Regions from separate parts of the Homo sapiens genome. Here region 1 is linked to region 2. The links are contacts of gene promoters, found by promoter capture Hi-C in human tissues and cell types (Jung and others, 2019). All regions are on one chromosome and are shown on one strand. The core of a region is centred on a gene start or on the middle of the fragment in contact, and the rest is flanking DNA. Distances in the headings are between cores, read along the strand shown. Region 1 holds the start of SPIB (Spi-B transcription factor). Region 2 overlaps LRRC4B (leucine rich repeat containing 4B).

The links. The method cuts DNA at HindIII sites, captures the fragments that hold promoters and counts their contacts. A contact is called where the count stands out against the background at its distance.
Region 1: a contact is called between the fragment with the promoter of SPIB here and a fragment that was not itself captured in region 2, in 3 of the 25 tissues and cell types used here (H1 embryonic stem cells, lymphoblastoid cells and spleen).

What each region holds. Positions count from the first base shown.
Region 1 is chr19:50,417,624-50,424,153 of GRCh38, forward strand. SPIB (Spi-B transcription factor) reads left to right here and starts at 1,315. Exons shown (of 6, transcript NM_003121.5): 1 at 1,315-1,362; 2 at 2,323-2,350; 3 at 4,850-4,922; 4 at 5,200-5,414; 5 at 5,982-6,132. The coding sequence starts at 1,340. It overlaps POLD1 (DNA polymerase delta 1, catalytic subunit), which reads left to right. Exons shown (of 27, transcript NM_002691.4): 27 at 219-391. The coding sequence ends at 324. RefSeq lists silencers at 1-81, 112-171, 454-622 and an enhancer at 2,162-2,211. The HindIII fragment of the contact is 45,060 bases long and covers 1-6,530 here.
Region 2 is chr19:50,522,885-50,529,459 of GRCh38, forward strand. All of the region lies in intron 2 of LRRC4B (leucine rich repeat containing 4B), which reads right to left. The region is part of intron 1 of LOC124904747 (a long non-coding RNA gene); the gene reads left to right. Among named protein-coding and RNA genes, the nearest start is that of ASPDH, 12 kb to the left of the region's middle. The HindIII fragment of the contact is 7,994 bases long and covers 1-6,575 here.

The sequences.
Region 1 (6,530 bases), core at 65-2,564, 110 kb before region 2:
CGGCCAGCCATGGCCCTGCACCTCGCCAGGCACCCGCTGTTATCGGCTCCCCCCCCCCACCCCCCCCGTGCCTGCTGAGCAAACAGCCCGCTGCGGGAGGGGGCGGGTGGGCTGGGCAGCAGGCGGGGACCAAAGTCCTGGGAACAGCCCCCACCCCTCTCCCAGGCTGGGCACTGGGCCTTGGCTGGTCCTGACCCTGCCCCTGCCCCCACCCGCAGCCGGGACTGCCCCATCTTCTACATGCGCAAGAAGGTGCGGAAGGACCTGGAAGACCAGGAGCAGCTCCTGCGGCGCTTCGGACCCCCTGGACCTGAGGCCTGGTGACCTTGCAAGCATCCCATGGGGCGGGGGCGGGACCAGGGAGAATTAATAAAGTTCTGGACTTTTGCTATATGGTGCTTTGTGGTCTCTGGGGGACACTGTCTGGTTTCATAAGCCCTGGCCTTGGCTGGGACCCTCCTGAGGCCCGCACCGCCCCTCATCCTCAGCAAAAGCCCCCGGACTCCCACCTGTGCTGCCTGGTTCATGTGGGCCAAGCCTGCCTCAGTTTCCTCTCTGGCCCTGAAGGAACCCTTATACCAGCGCTTCTCTGCCCTGCTTAGGGCCCCCAGGTGTCTGGCCCCGGCCCAGCCCTCCCTGGTGATGACCCTGGGGACCCTGGTGGCTGCCCCGCCCTCCAGGTGCTGACCTGTTTCCTCCAGGCCCTGGGGCAGCCCCAGGCGCACCGGGGCTTCCACTCCTCAGCCCGGCCAAGGGGACCCCCCCATCCCCCGCCGGACCACACACCCACGATGTTTCCACGTCGGGGTCCTGGCAATGGGCTTTGGGTCTGGGTTTCCCCCCAGCGACTCCCATCTCTATCCCCGCAGCCTCTAACTGCCGTCAGATGCCCTCGGCCCTCCCGTCACCTCACACATCCCCCGGGGAGAGTCTTGTGCTTGCCCCTCGGCCCCCAGCCCGCCCCTGCTGGAATTCGGCTCCTGGGTCCAGATCCTCCGTTTCCTGATTCTCCTCTTCAGTGAACCCCAGCCCTTCCTCGATGTTTTCAGGGTTCCCCCAAATCCAGCTCCTGTCCCATCTCCAGCCCTCAAGGTCAGCCCCCCAAACCCAGCCCCACGGGGATCCCCAAATCCAGACAGCCCCTGGCCCGCCATCCCTGCCATGTGACAAAGGGGTTGTGCAATCCAGCCCCCTCCCCTGACCCCCTCCCTGAGGGGATTTTTGAGGAGGGCCGAGCTTGTGGCCAGCGGGCACCCTCCTCCCCCCGGCAGGGGCTGGGCCAAGATATAAATAGGGTTGGCGGCTGCAGCGGGCGGCAAACAGCCCGCCCGGCACCACCATGCTCGCCCTGGAGGCTGCACAGTAAGTGAGGGCCCCCAAACCTGCACCCGGGGTCCCCACCTGCACTGCCCCTCTGTGGGGCCTCACCCATGGGCAGTGGTTTCTCTGCTCCTCACGGCCGGTGGGTGGGAGTGGAGGGGAGGGGTCCACCCTGTCTCTTGCCCCTTCTGGTTCTGTTCCCTCTTCACTTCGGACTCTCCATCCCCCCAGTTCCTATCTTTCCTGGTCCCCAAAGATCTCATTTCCCCAGAACACTTGCTAGCGTGCCCTCCTGCGGGCGTCCTCCGTGGCTCTCACTCTGTCCATCCTCCTGTCTCCCCGAGTTCCCGTATCTGTTCGCTCTGTATCTGGCATCTCCCAGCTCTCAACATTCTGCCTGTTGCTCTCTGTCTCTCTGCCTGTCTCTGTGTCTCTGTCTCCAGTTCTCGCTCTCCCTGCCTTTTGGTCTCCTTCTGCCTCACCCTCACTCTCAGTGCCTCCATCTGGGGCTCCAGGAATCCTCCCCGCCTCTGTGCGTGAATGTCCCTTTGCACACCTTTCTCTGTGTCCCACCTCTCCTTGAGCCTCCTCATCTGAGTCTTCTCCGGGCTTCCCCCTCTCTACCCAGACATCTCTCCATCCTTCTCCTCTGGTCCAAGCTGGACTCAACTGACTCGCCACCAAGGCCGCACTTGACCCAGGCCCCCTCTCCATCCCCACACCTCCTTTCCGGGACTTTCTCTCCCTCACTTTCCCTGCCCCTCCCCACCAGGGTGTCTATGCAAATTCTGGGGAGGAGGGGGACATTTGCCTCCCCCCCACCCCCCACTTCCTGTCCCAGCAGGGGGTAGTGGGGGAGTCCGGTGAATGTGGTGGGGCTGGTCCCTCACACAGGGCTGCGGTGGTCACAGCTGCTGCCGCCTCCCCATCAGCCCCCAACCACTTTGAGATTCAGGTGGCTGGAGGCAGCCTCAGCATGCCCCTGTGTCTCTCCCCCTCCAGGCTCGACGGGCCACACTTCAGCTGTCTGGTGAGTTGGGGCCCCTGGGGGCCAGGGAGGGGTGGCCCACAGTGACCTCCCTCAGAGAAGTCATTTGCTTCCTGCCTCAGTTTCCCCTCCCACCTCTTCCTGTCACTTTGTTTCTGAGCTCCCCCTTGGTATCTCCTGCTACCCCGCATCCGTATTTTTGATGTCTCTCTCCCCCTCTCAGGCTTGAATCCACTTCCTTGTGGCTTTGTATCTCTCTCTGCCCATCCCATATTCAGACAATGTATTTTCATGTTCCTTTCCTTCTTTTTGTTCGTATTTTTAAAAATTGTGTTCTCTAACAGTTCAGATACGGAATACTATACCCAACACCCTTGAACCCACAATCCAGTCTGAGTAATCAAATCTTACTGATGTGGTTGAAAGAAAGCCCCTGTTTATGCCCCTCCACATTCACACCCCAGCCATGTTTTTTTTGTTTGTTTTTGTTTGTTTGTTTTTTAATTGAAGTGTAACTAACAAGTCAGTAAAGTGACAAATCTTGTGTTTTTGCATTATCTATACACCGTGTAGCCACAAGCCAGATCAAGATACCGAACATTTCAATCTCTGAAATATTCCTTCCTGTCCCTTCTCAGTCAATACCTTTCTCTGATATTTTCCGCCACCAATTTGTAATTTGTTTTGCCTGCTCTTTTTTTTGTTTTGCTTTTTGAGAAGGAGTCTCGCTCTGTCACCCAGGCTGGAGTGCAGTGGCAGCGTCTTGGCTCACTGCAAGCTCCACCTCCCGGGTTCAAGCAATTCTCCTGCCTCAGCCTCCCAAGTAGCTGGGATTACAGGCATGTGCCACCATGCCCAGCTAATTTTTGTATTTTTAGTAGAGGCAGGGTTTCACCATGTTATCCGGGCTGGTTTCAAACTCCTGAGCTCAAGTGATCCTCCCACCTCAGCCTCCCAAATTGCTGGGATTACAGGCGTGAGCCACCGCACCCAGCTGCCTGCTTTTGAACTTTATGTAAAGTGAGTCATACAGCATGTCCCTTTTGGGGTCTGGCTTCCCTCACTCAACATGAAGTGTGTGTCAGTGTTTGTCCTTTTTCCTTGCTGTATAGTACTCTATCTATGATCAGCCCACACCACAGTCTGTTTATCCCTTCTTCTGTTGATGACACCTGGGCTGTTTCCAGTTGGAGACTCATAATAAAGCTGCTGGGATGATTCTGGAACAAGGCTATTTTGTGCACATCCATTTTCAGTTCTCTTGATTAAATGCCAAGGAGTGAGACTGCCAGGTCCTAGGCATGGTGTGGATCTAGCTTTAGTTTTTCCTAGACTCGAGTTCTTGAAGCAACAACACATGATTCATGGGGCGAATCAACATATGGAGATTTATTTATTTATTTATTTATTGAGACAGAGTTTTGCTCTGTCGCCGGGCTGGAGTACAGTGGTGCGATCTCGGCTCACTGCAACCTCAGCCTCCTGGGTTCAAGCGATTCTCCTGCCTCAGCCTCCCAAGTAGCTGGGACTACAGGTGCGCACCACCATGCCTGGCTAATTTTTGTATTTTTAGTAGAGACGGGGTTTCACCATGTTGGCCAGGCTGGTATCGATCTCCTGACCTCATGATCTGCCTGCCTTGGCCTTCCAAAGTGCTGGGATTACAGGCATGAGCCACCATGCCCGGCCTATTTATTTTTCGAGACAGAGTCTCACTCTGTCACCCAGGCTGGAGTGCAGTGGCGCGATCTCAGCTCACTGCAACCTCCACCTCCCAGGTTCAAGCGATTCTCCTGCCTCGGCCTCCAGAGTAGCTGGGATTACAGACATCTGCCACCAGGCCCAGCTAATTTTTGTATTTTCAGTAGAGATGGGGTTTCCCCATGTTGTGCAGGCTGGTCTCGAACTCCTGACCTCAGGTGATTCACTGGCCTCAGCCTCCCAAAGTGCTAGGATTACAGGCGTGCGCCACCACGCCTAGCTAATTTTTGTATTTTTAGTAGAGACGGGATTTCACCATGTTGGCTAGACTGGTCTTGAACTCCTGACCTCAGGTGATCTGCCCGCCTCGGCCCCCCAAAGTGTTGGGATGACAGGCGTGAGCCACCACGCCTGGCCTGGAGGTGTATTTAAAAAGCATTGACCCCTGCCTCTGTTAAGTGAAACACTTCCATTTCCCCTTGCCCTTCACCTCCGGAGCCCCCAGGCAGGCAAGGCTGGGGGAGTTCTTCCACCCCTTCTCCAGGCGCCCTGATTCGCTGACTGTGTGCCAGTGAGGGGCCAGGGTTCTTGGGAGCCCACCGTCTTAGCAGGAGCTGGCTGCTGTGTGCCCCTATTGGGTTGTGTCTCTACTCTCTGTATCTCTGTCTCTTTGTCCCTGTCTCTGATGCCTAGTCTCTGTGTTTCTTTGTTGCTCTAATCTCTCCAGCATCCCCTCTTCTCTCCCATGTCTGTGTTGGAGTCTCCCCAAGGGTCCAGGGTGGGGGTTGGGAGTCCCCAAGGCCTGGGATGACCCCTCTTCCCTCCTGCACCCCGTATCAGTACCCAGATGGCGTCTTCTATGACCTGGACAGCTGCAAGCATTCCAGCTACCCTGATTCAGAGGGGGCTCCTGGTGAGTGACCCCAGCCCTGTGCCCTTCCTGCCTTGGGGCCCATTTCACAGATAGGGGAGCTGAGGCCCAGGGGAGGTCATTTCCTAGCACAACAGGATAAAGGTGGCCCGGGCCTATAGCCCTCCTCCCCTTTCCTCTCCTACCCATCCGCTCCTCCATGCAAATCCTGGGGTCAGAGATTTGCACAGCCTACAATGGCCTCTCTGTGCTGGGGGCTTCGACTGCGAGGAGGCCTCCGTGAGACATCCCAGCTTCTGACTCAGTGCCCTTCCCCCAGACTCCCTGTGGGACTGGACTGTGGCCCCACCTGTCCCAGCCACCCCCTATGAAGCCTTCGACCCGGCAGCAGCCGCTTTTAGCCACCCCCAGGCTGCCCAGCTCTGCTACGAACCCCCCACCTACAGCCCTGCAGGGAACCTCGAACTGGCCCCCAGCCTGGAGGCCCCGGGGCCTGGCCTCCCTGCATACCCCACGGAGAACTTCGCTAGCCAGGTGAGTGGTAAGGGGACAGTTAAAATCAAGCCCAAACCAGGTGTGGTGGTGCACGCCTGTAATCCCAGCTGCTTGAGAGGCTGAGGTGGGAGGAGGATTGCTTGAGCCCAGAAGGTCGAGGCAATCCACTGCACTCCAGTCTGGGCAACAGAGCAAGACCCTGTCTCAAAAAAAAAAAAAAAAAAGAAAAAGAAAAGAAAACTCAAGCTCAGTCATTTGGTTGAGGTTTGCTGGGTGCCGGGCACTGCATTGAGACTGCACATAGTAAGCCCTGCAGCGGCCTCCCAGGTTACGTTCCGTTGTTGCCCCTCTGAACAAGTGAGTCAAGAGAGGTAGTGACAGGAAGCCAGGGACAGGGCAGACTCGCATTACCTGTGTTGGGCCGGCTTTGAGGAGGTACCTCAGGTGTCCCCTGGCCACAGCGTGGTGATCTGAACAAAGGCCAAAATCTAGGCTGTCAACAAAGAGGGAGACCAGAGCCAGGAGGGCCACCGCCTTGGCCTGAGAGGAGGAAGTGGAGGGAGACAAGGGGTCCCTGGACATGCAGGTGACCCTGACCTTCCGCAGACCCTGGTTCCCCCGGCATATGCCCCGTACCCCAGCCCTGTGCTATCAGAGGAGGAAGACTTACCGTTGGACAGCCCTGCCCTGGAGGTCTCGGACAGCGAGTCGGATGAGGCCCTCGTGGCTGGCCCCGAGGGGAAGGGATCCGAGGCAGGTATGCGGGAGTGGCTGGGGTGGGGGAGATGCCAGCTGGAGATGGTGGGGGGGCTGAGAGCACCATGGCTTCCTGGGCCTCTACATATACTCCAGCACTCTGGGCAGCTCCCAGATCCGCACCACCTGCTGGCTGTGTGACCTTGGGTAAGTGCCTCTACCTCTCTGTGCCCAGGTTTCCTGTCTGTGCGATGGGGATGGAGGTGATAGTGTCTACCCTCCTGAGGTCGTTGGGGGGACTAAATGGGATAGTAAGTGTAAATGGGACAGCAGTGCCAGGCACAGAGTGAGCACTTCAATAAGTCAACCTCTTCACCATCATTCCCGACACCACAGCAACAGAAATGATAATGCTATCAACCCCCAACGGTTCAACCCTTGCCCCCTGCCCGTGTGCCC
Region 2 (6,575 bases), core at 1,625-4,124:
TATTACTATGTTTCTAATATCGGAATGTCAAAACGCATCAGACCTCAAGAGTTTCACACGAAGGATGATGAATTAGGCCCAGGGAGGTGCAGTGACTTGCCCAAGGTCACACAGAAGTGGACAGCAGAGTTGGGACTGGATCCAGGCCCTCTGGTTCCAGAGTCCTGGCTCTTGACCTCTGACCCTGGCTGCCGCCTCTCAGGGCTGGAGCTGGGGTCCACGGGAGGGGCAGTGCTGGGTCAGAGCACGGGAGGCAGGAGCTCACAGGGTCCTCACTACTGATGACCACGCCGGGTGCACTGAGGCCCAGAAGGCCACACAGCCATTGGATCATATCTGCAAAGCCCAGATAGTGGTGTGTGCCAGGGAGAAGGGGACGGACACTGGGGGAATGCGGTGTTACAGTATTAACGGAGGAAACTGAGAACCTCAGATGCATCCTGTGTCATCACAAAGAAGCTGAAGAATTAGGTATCAGAGTATATGCACCAAAAGAAAAAAGAGAAAAAGAGGCCGGGCGTGGTGGCTCACACCTGTAATCCCAGCACTTAGGTAGGCCGAGGCGGGCAGATCAGTTGAGGTTGGGAGTTTGAGACCAGCCTGGCCAACATGATAAAACTCCGTCTCTGCTAAAAATACAAAAATTAGCCGGGGGTGGTGGGGGGTGCCTGTAATCCCAGTTACTCGGGAGACTGAGGCAAGAGGGAGGCGGAGGTTGCAGTGAGCCGAGATCGCGCCACTGCACTCTGGCCTGGGCAACACAGTGAGACTCCATCTTAAAAACAAAAAAGAGGCCGGGCATGGTGGCTCATGCCTGTAATCCTAGCACTCTGAGAGGCCAAGGCAGGTGGATCACCTGGGTCAGGATTTCGAGACCAGCTTGGCCAACATGGCGAAACCCCATCTCTACTAAAAATACAAAAAATTAGTCAGGCATGGTGGCAGGTGCCTGTAATCCCAGCTACTTGGGAGGCTGAGGCAGGAGAATCTCTTGAACCCGGGAGGCGGAGGTTGCAGTGAGCCAAGATCGCCCAGTTGCACTCCAGCCTGGGTGACAGAGTGAGACTCTGTCTAAAAAAAAAAAAAAACTGGAAGGACATACTCCAAGCTTTTCTTAGTAGTGAACTTTATCTGTTGGGAATTATGGACAATTTTTATTCTTGTGTGATATTTTTTCCTCAATGAGGAAAAATTACTTTTACAGTAAGCAGGAATAAAAACAAAACCAAACCCAGATATACCTGAGAGGCAAACAGCGTAAGAAATGGTAGAATCTGTGGCATAGGCAGAATCATAAAATAATAATAATGTATGTCGGTGCTGTCCAATAGAAATAGAATGTGAACACGTGTGTAATGTTTGTTTGGTTGTTTTGTTTTAAGACAGAGTCTTGCTGTGTCACCCAGGCTGGAGTGCAGTGGCGCAGTCTCGGCTCACTGCAGCCTTGACCGTCTGGGCTCAAGTGATCTGCTCGCCTCAGCCTCCTGAGTAGCTGGGACTACAGGCACGTGCCAGCACACCTGGCTAATTTTATTTTATTTTAATTTTTTGTAGAGATGGGGTCTCCCTATGTTGCCCAGGCTGGTCTCAAACTCCTGGCCTCAAGCGATCCTCCCGTCTCAGCCTCCCAAAGTGCTGGGATTATAGGTGTGAGCCACCACACCCAGCCCACATGTGTAATTTTAAATTTCCTAGAAGCCACATTGAAATAATAATAAAGAAAAAACCAAACAGGTGAAATCAACTTTACTAATATATTTATTTAGCTCAACAGGTCCAAAATACTCTCATTTGAACCTGTCATCAGATGCAAACTTGCGATTGAGCCATTTTACACTCTTTATGGTGGAGCTTCGAAATCCAAGGAAACCCAACATGTGTTTTACACCCAGGGCGTCCAGGGCACCTCTCAGTAGCAACGCATGCAGTCCCCGAGCCCAGCCAGCAGCCCCGATGCTGGCGGCTGCCCTGTGAGATGCTGCGGGTTTACTCGGTGCCCAGGGACGCTCTGTGGACACAGTCACCTTTTGTCCATCCAGCAGCCCTAAGAACAAGGACTGTGATCGCCCCGTTTTAGAAAGGAGGAAACAGGAGCCTAAAGAAGTGGCTTGCTCCATGGCAGAGCTGGGCAGGGCTGGCCGGAGCCTGCGCCCCTCCCCGTCTCGCTCGGCCACCTCACACCCACCCATCGCCGTTCCCCGTGGACAGACACGGAAACAGAGGTCACGGGTGTAGTGTGAAGAGCAGAGCCCTGTTCAAATCCCGCCTCCCCCGTCCTGGTTGTAGGGCCTGTCACTTGAGCTCTCTGTACCTCTGGGCTCACTCTTACCACGAGGAGGATGATGAAAAGCACTTCAGAGGGTGAGGGAGAGGAGATGAGGTCCCAGTGTTCAGGGGTGCTCAGCACGTCGTCATTCTCATTGTTATCGTTATCGTTGGCGTTGAGAAACTTGTACCATGCCCTTGGGATTACAGCCCTGAGCCGTCCACTGAAAGGCGGCTCTTAGGGCCAAGAACCGTACTTTTTTTTTTTTTTTTGAGAGGGAGTTTTGCTCTTGTTGCCTAGGCTGGAGTGCAATGGCGTAATCTTGGCTCACTGCAACCTCCACCTCCCGGGTTCAAGTGATTCTCCTGCCTCAGCCTCCCAAGTAGCTAGGATTACAGGCGTCCTCCACCACACCCGGCTAATTTTTGTATTTTTTTTTTTTTTTTTTAGTAGAGACGAGGGTTTTATCATGTTGGCCAGGCTGGTCTTGAACTCCTGACCTCAGGTGATCTGCCCAACTCGGCCTCCCAAAGTGCCGGGATTACACACGTGAGCCACCCTCCCCGGCAAGAACTGTCTGACTGCATCCTTTCCCGCAGAAAATCAGGGCCGCCCCCATCCTGGCCCCCTGTCCTCCGACTCCCTGTTCCAGCCTCTCCTCTCCATGCCAATGGCCCCAGCTGCACCTCAGCCCTCTGCCTCTCCCACCAGGCCCTAGAAAGGTCTGTTTAGGCAGGGCGCATGCCTGTAATCCCAGCTATTTGGGAGGCTGAGGCGGCAGAATCGTTTGAACCCAGGAGGCGAGGTTGCGGTGAGCCGAGATAACGCCATTGTACTCCAGCCTGGGTAACAAGAGAGAAACTCAGTCTCAAAAATAAAATAAAATAGAAGTCTGTTTATACCCACAGATCCCCTGTCCCTCCCCTGGGCCCTTCACAATCCTCCCAGGACTGCCCGTCAGTCCCAGCATAAGACTCTCCCATGCCCCGCTGTGCTGCCACCAAGGCGACAATGACAGTGAGAGCCCATAAGACACAGTCTCTGCCCTGGAGCAGCTCATCCGCCTGGCACCACCTTCTCCTTCCTCCTCTACTTGTTTCCCCCACCTCCTGTTCTGGCAAGTCCCTGAGCCCAGCAGACACACTCTTGCCTCTGGCCTTTGCACCTTTCCTGCTTTTTTCCTGGATACCTCCCTGCATCTGTCCTTCAACACCTAGTTCCAGGGTCACTTACACAGGAGGATGTCCTGGTCCCGTCTCCCCACCCCAGTCTGGTCAGGGATCCCCGGGGCTGGGTTCCCTGGAGCCCAGAGTCCAGGTGCCTCCAGGGAGGGCAGGGACTGGGTCCCAACCACAGGGCGTCTTGCGCAATGAAGGACTCCACCGCCTCAGAGTGAAAAGGATAGACGAAGGATAGGCGCAGTGGCTTACGCCTGTAATCCCAGCACTTTGGGAGGCCGAGGCAGGCAGATGACTTGAGGTCAGGAGTTCCAGACTAGCCTAGGCAATAAGGTGAAACCGTGTTTCTAAAATTAAAAAAATTGTTAAAAAGTAATATATACTCATTTAGGAAAAAATGTATGAGAAGAAAATAAAAATTGGCCAAAATACATCTACCCAGAGCTAATTTATGTTAATCATTTGGCACATCCTTCCAATTTTTTCTATGCATATTATGCAGGGATATATTTTTTCATTATCTTTTACTTTTTTTTTTTTTTTGAGATAGAGTCTCACTCTGTTGCCCAGGATGGAGTGCAGTGGCACAATCTTGGCTTACTACAACCTCTGGCTCCCGGGTTCATGCAATTCTCTTGCCTCAGCCTCATGAGTAGCTGGGATTACAGGCACACGCCACTACGCCCGGCTAATTTTTGTATTTTTGTATTTTTTTTTTTTTTGAGACAGAGTCTCGCTCTGTCACCCAGGCTGGAGTGCAGTGGCACAATCCCGGCTTACTGCAAGCTCCGCCTCCTGGGTTCACGCCATTCTCCTGCCTCAGCCTCCCGAGTAGCTGGGACTACAGGCACCCGCCACCACTCCCAGCTAATTTTCTGCATTTTTAGTAGAGATGGGGTTTCACTGTGTTAGCCAGGACGGTCTCGATCTCCTGACCTCGTGATCTGCCCGCCTCAGCCTCCCAAAGTGCTGGGATTACAGGCATGAGCCACCACGCCCGGCTGTTTTCTTTCTTTTTTCTTTTTTTTTTTTTTTTTTTAGTAGAGAGGGGGTTTCACCATGTTGGCCAGGTGGTCTCGAATTTCTGACCTCAAATGATCCACCCGCCTCAGTGTCCCAAAGTGCTGGGATTACAGGCATGAGCCATTCATTGTGGCTTGCTTTTTTACAAAATTTTGATGATACAATATACTTGCCTGGGTCCTGCATTTCCCCTTAATAACATTGTGAGTATTTTCTTACATCATGAATAGTGCTTCAAAGACATGATATGAACGGCCCTCTAGAGTACTGGCCCACGGCTATACCTACGTATGGACATTGATCTGTAATTGACAGGGTGATCTTTCCTTTTCTTTCTCCTTTCTCTCTGTCTCTTTCCCTCCCTCCCTCCCTCCCTCTTTCTCTCTTTCTTTTCTTTTTTTCTTTTTTTTTTTTGAGTCTCGCTCTGTTGCCCAGGCTGGAGTGCGGTGGCACGATCTCAGCTCACTGCAAGCTCCGCCTTCTGGGTTCAAATGATTTTCCTGCCTCAGCCTCTGGAGTAGCTGGGACTACAGGCACGCACCACCACACCCGGCTAATTTTTTGTATTTTTAGTAGAGACGGGGTTTCACCGTGTTAGCCAGGATGGTCTCGATCTCCTGACCTCGTGATCTGCCTGCCTCGGCCTCCCAAAGTGCTGGGATTACAGGCGTGAGCCACCGTGCCTGGCCCTCTCTCTCTCTCTTTCTTTCTGACAGGGTCTCCCTCTGTCACTCTGGCTGAAGTGCAGTGCTGTGATCATAACTCACTGCAGCCTCAACCTCCTGGGTCCCAGTGATTCTCCCACCTCAGCCTCCCAAGTAGCTGGGACTAAAGGCACACACCACCATGCCTTGCTAAGTTTAAAATTTTGTAGAGATGGGGTCTTGCTGTGTTGCCCAGCCTGGTCTCAAACTCCTGGCCTTGAGCAATCCTCTTGCCTCAGCCTCCCAAAGTGCCGGGATTACAGGTGTGAGTCACTATGTCTGTGCTTGATTTCTTCTTTCTTTTTTTTAGATGGAATTTCACTCTGTCGCCCAGGCTGGACTGCAGTGGTGCGATCTCAGCTCACTGCAACCTCTGCCTTCTGGGTTTAAGCAATTCTCCTGCCTCAGCCTCCCGAGAAGCTGGGATTACAGGTGTGCACCACCACGCCCAGCTAATTTTTGTATTTTTAGTAGAGACAGCATTTCGCCATGCTAGCCAGGTTGGTCTTGAACTCCTGACCTCAAGTGATCTACTCGCCTTGCCCTCCCAAAGTGCTGCGATGACGGGCGTGAGCCACTGCGCCCGGCCGATTTTTTTCTTAATAGGCTTCTGCCTTGTCTAACTTCCCAGAGTGAACATGGCTAGCTTTCAGAACTGAATGAGACCTCCGTGAATGCTATTTCACAGGCAGGAGGGTGTGAATGTATTTGCAGGGAGCTGGTGGGGGCTCAGCCTGCAGGACACAGCCTGAGGATGGGCTCGGGCAGGCCTTGTGGGGCAGGGAGAATGGCGGAGTACAGCAGGAATGCCTCTGCAGGTGCGGGTCCTGAGGGTCATTTGGGTCCCAAGCCGGCCTGGGGTCTCTGCACCCAGCCGGAGATGCGACTGTGCCTGGGCATGAGGCTGGGGGCTGTGGGCATCGCCTGTCCAGGGCAGGAGAAGCAGGGGCTTGAGAATGTCTCTGGCCTGACTGGGCTAGAGCTCTAAAACTCCCCCCTCTGCCAGGGGACCCCCCCAGAGCTTGCATTTCTTCCTCAGAGAGAGTATCTGGGGAAGAACCCAACCTGGAGCTTCTCAGAGCCGGTTCTCAGAGCTCATTTCCCGGGACGCTAAACACCAACAGCAAAAAAACACTCTCTCATATCAATGCGTTAGGAGCCTGCACACTCCCTCCCCGAGACTCCAGTGCACCTGGCGTGTTGAAGCTCCGTGAAGCCCAGTGGGAGACAGCGGCTTTGTTTTGCTCAACTCTAGTTTTCCCAAACATAATACACATGGGGCCCTTCTCACCAAACGCAGCTTATCACCTCCCTGGGAAATGCTGGTGATTGATAAAGCAGGCACTCGGTTGCTATTTCTATTAATAATAATAACATCAATAATAGTAACAGGAGGAGGAGGTC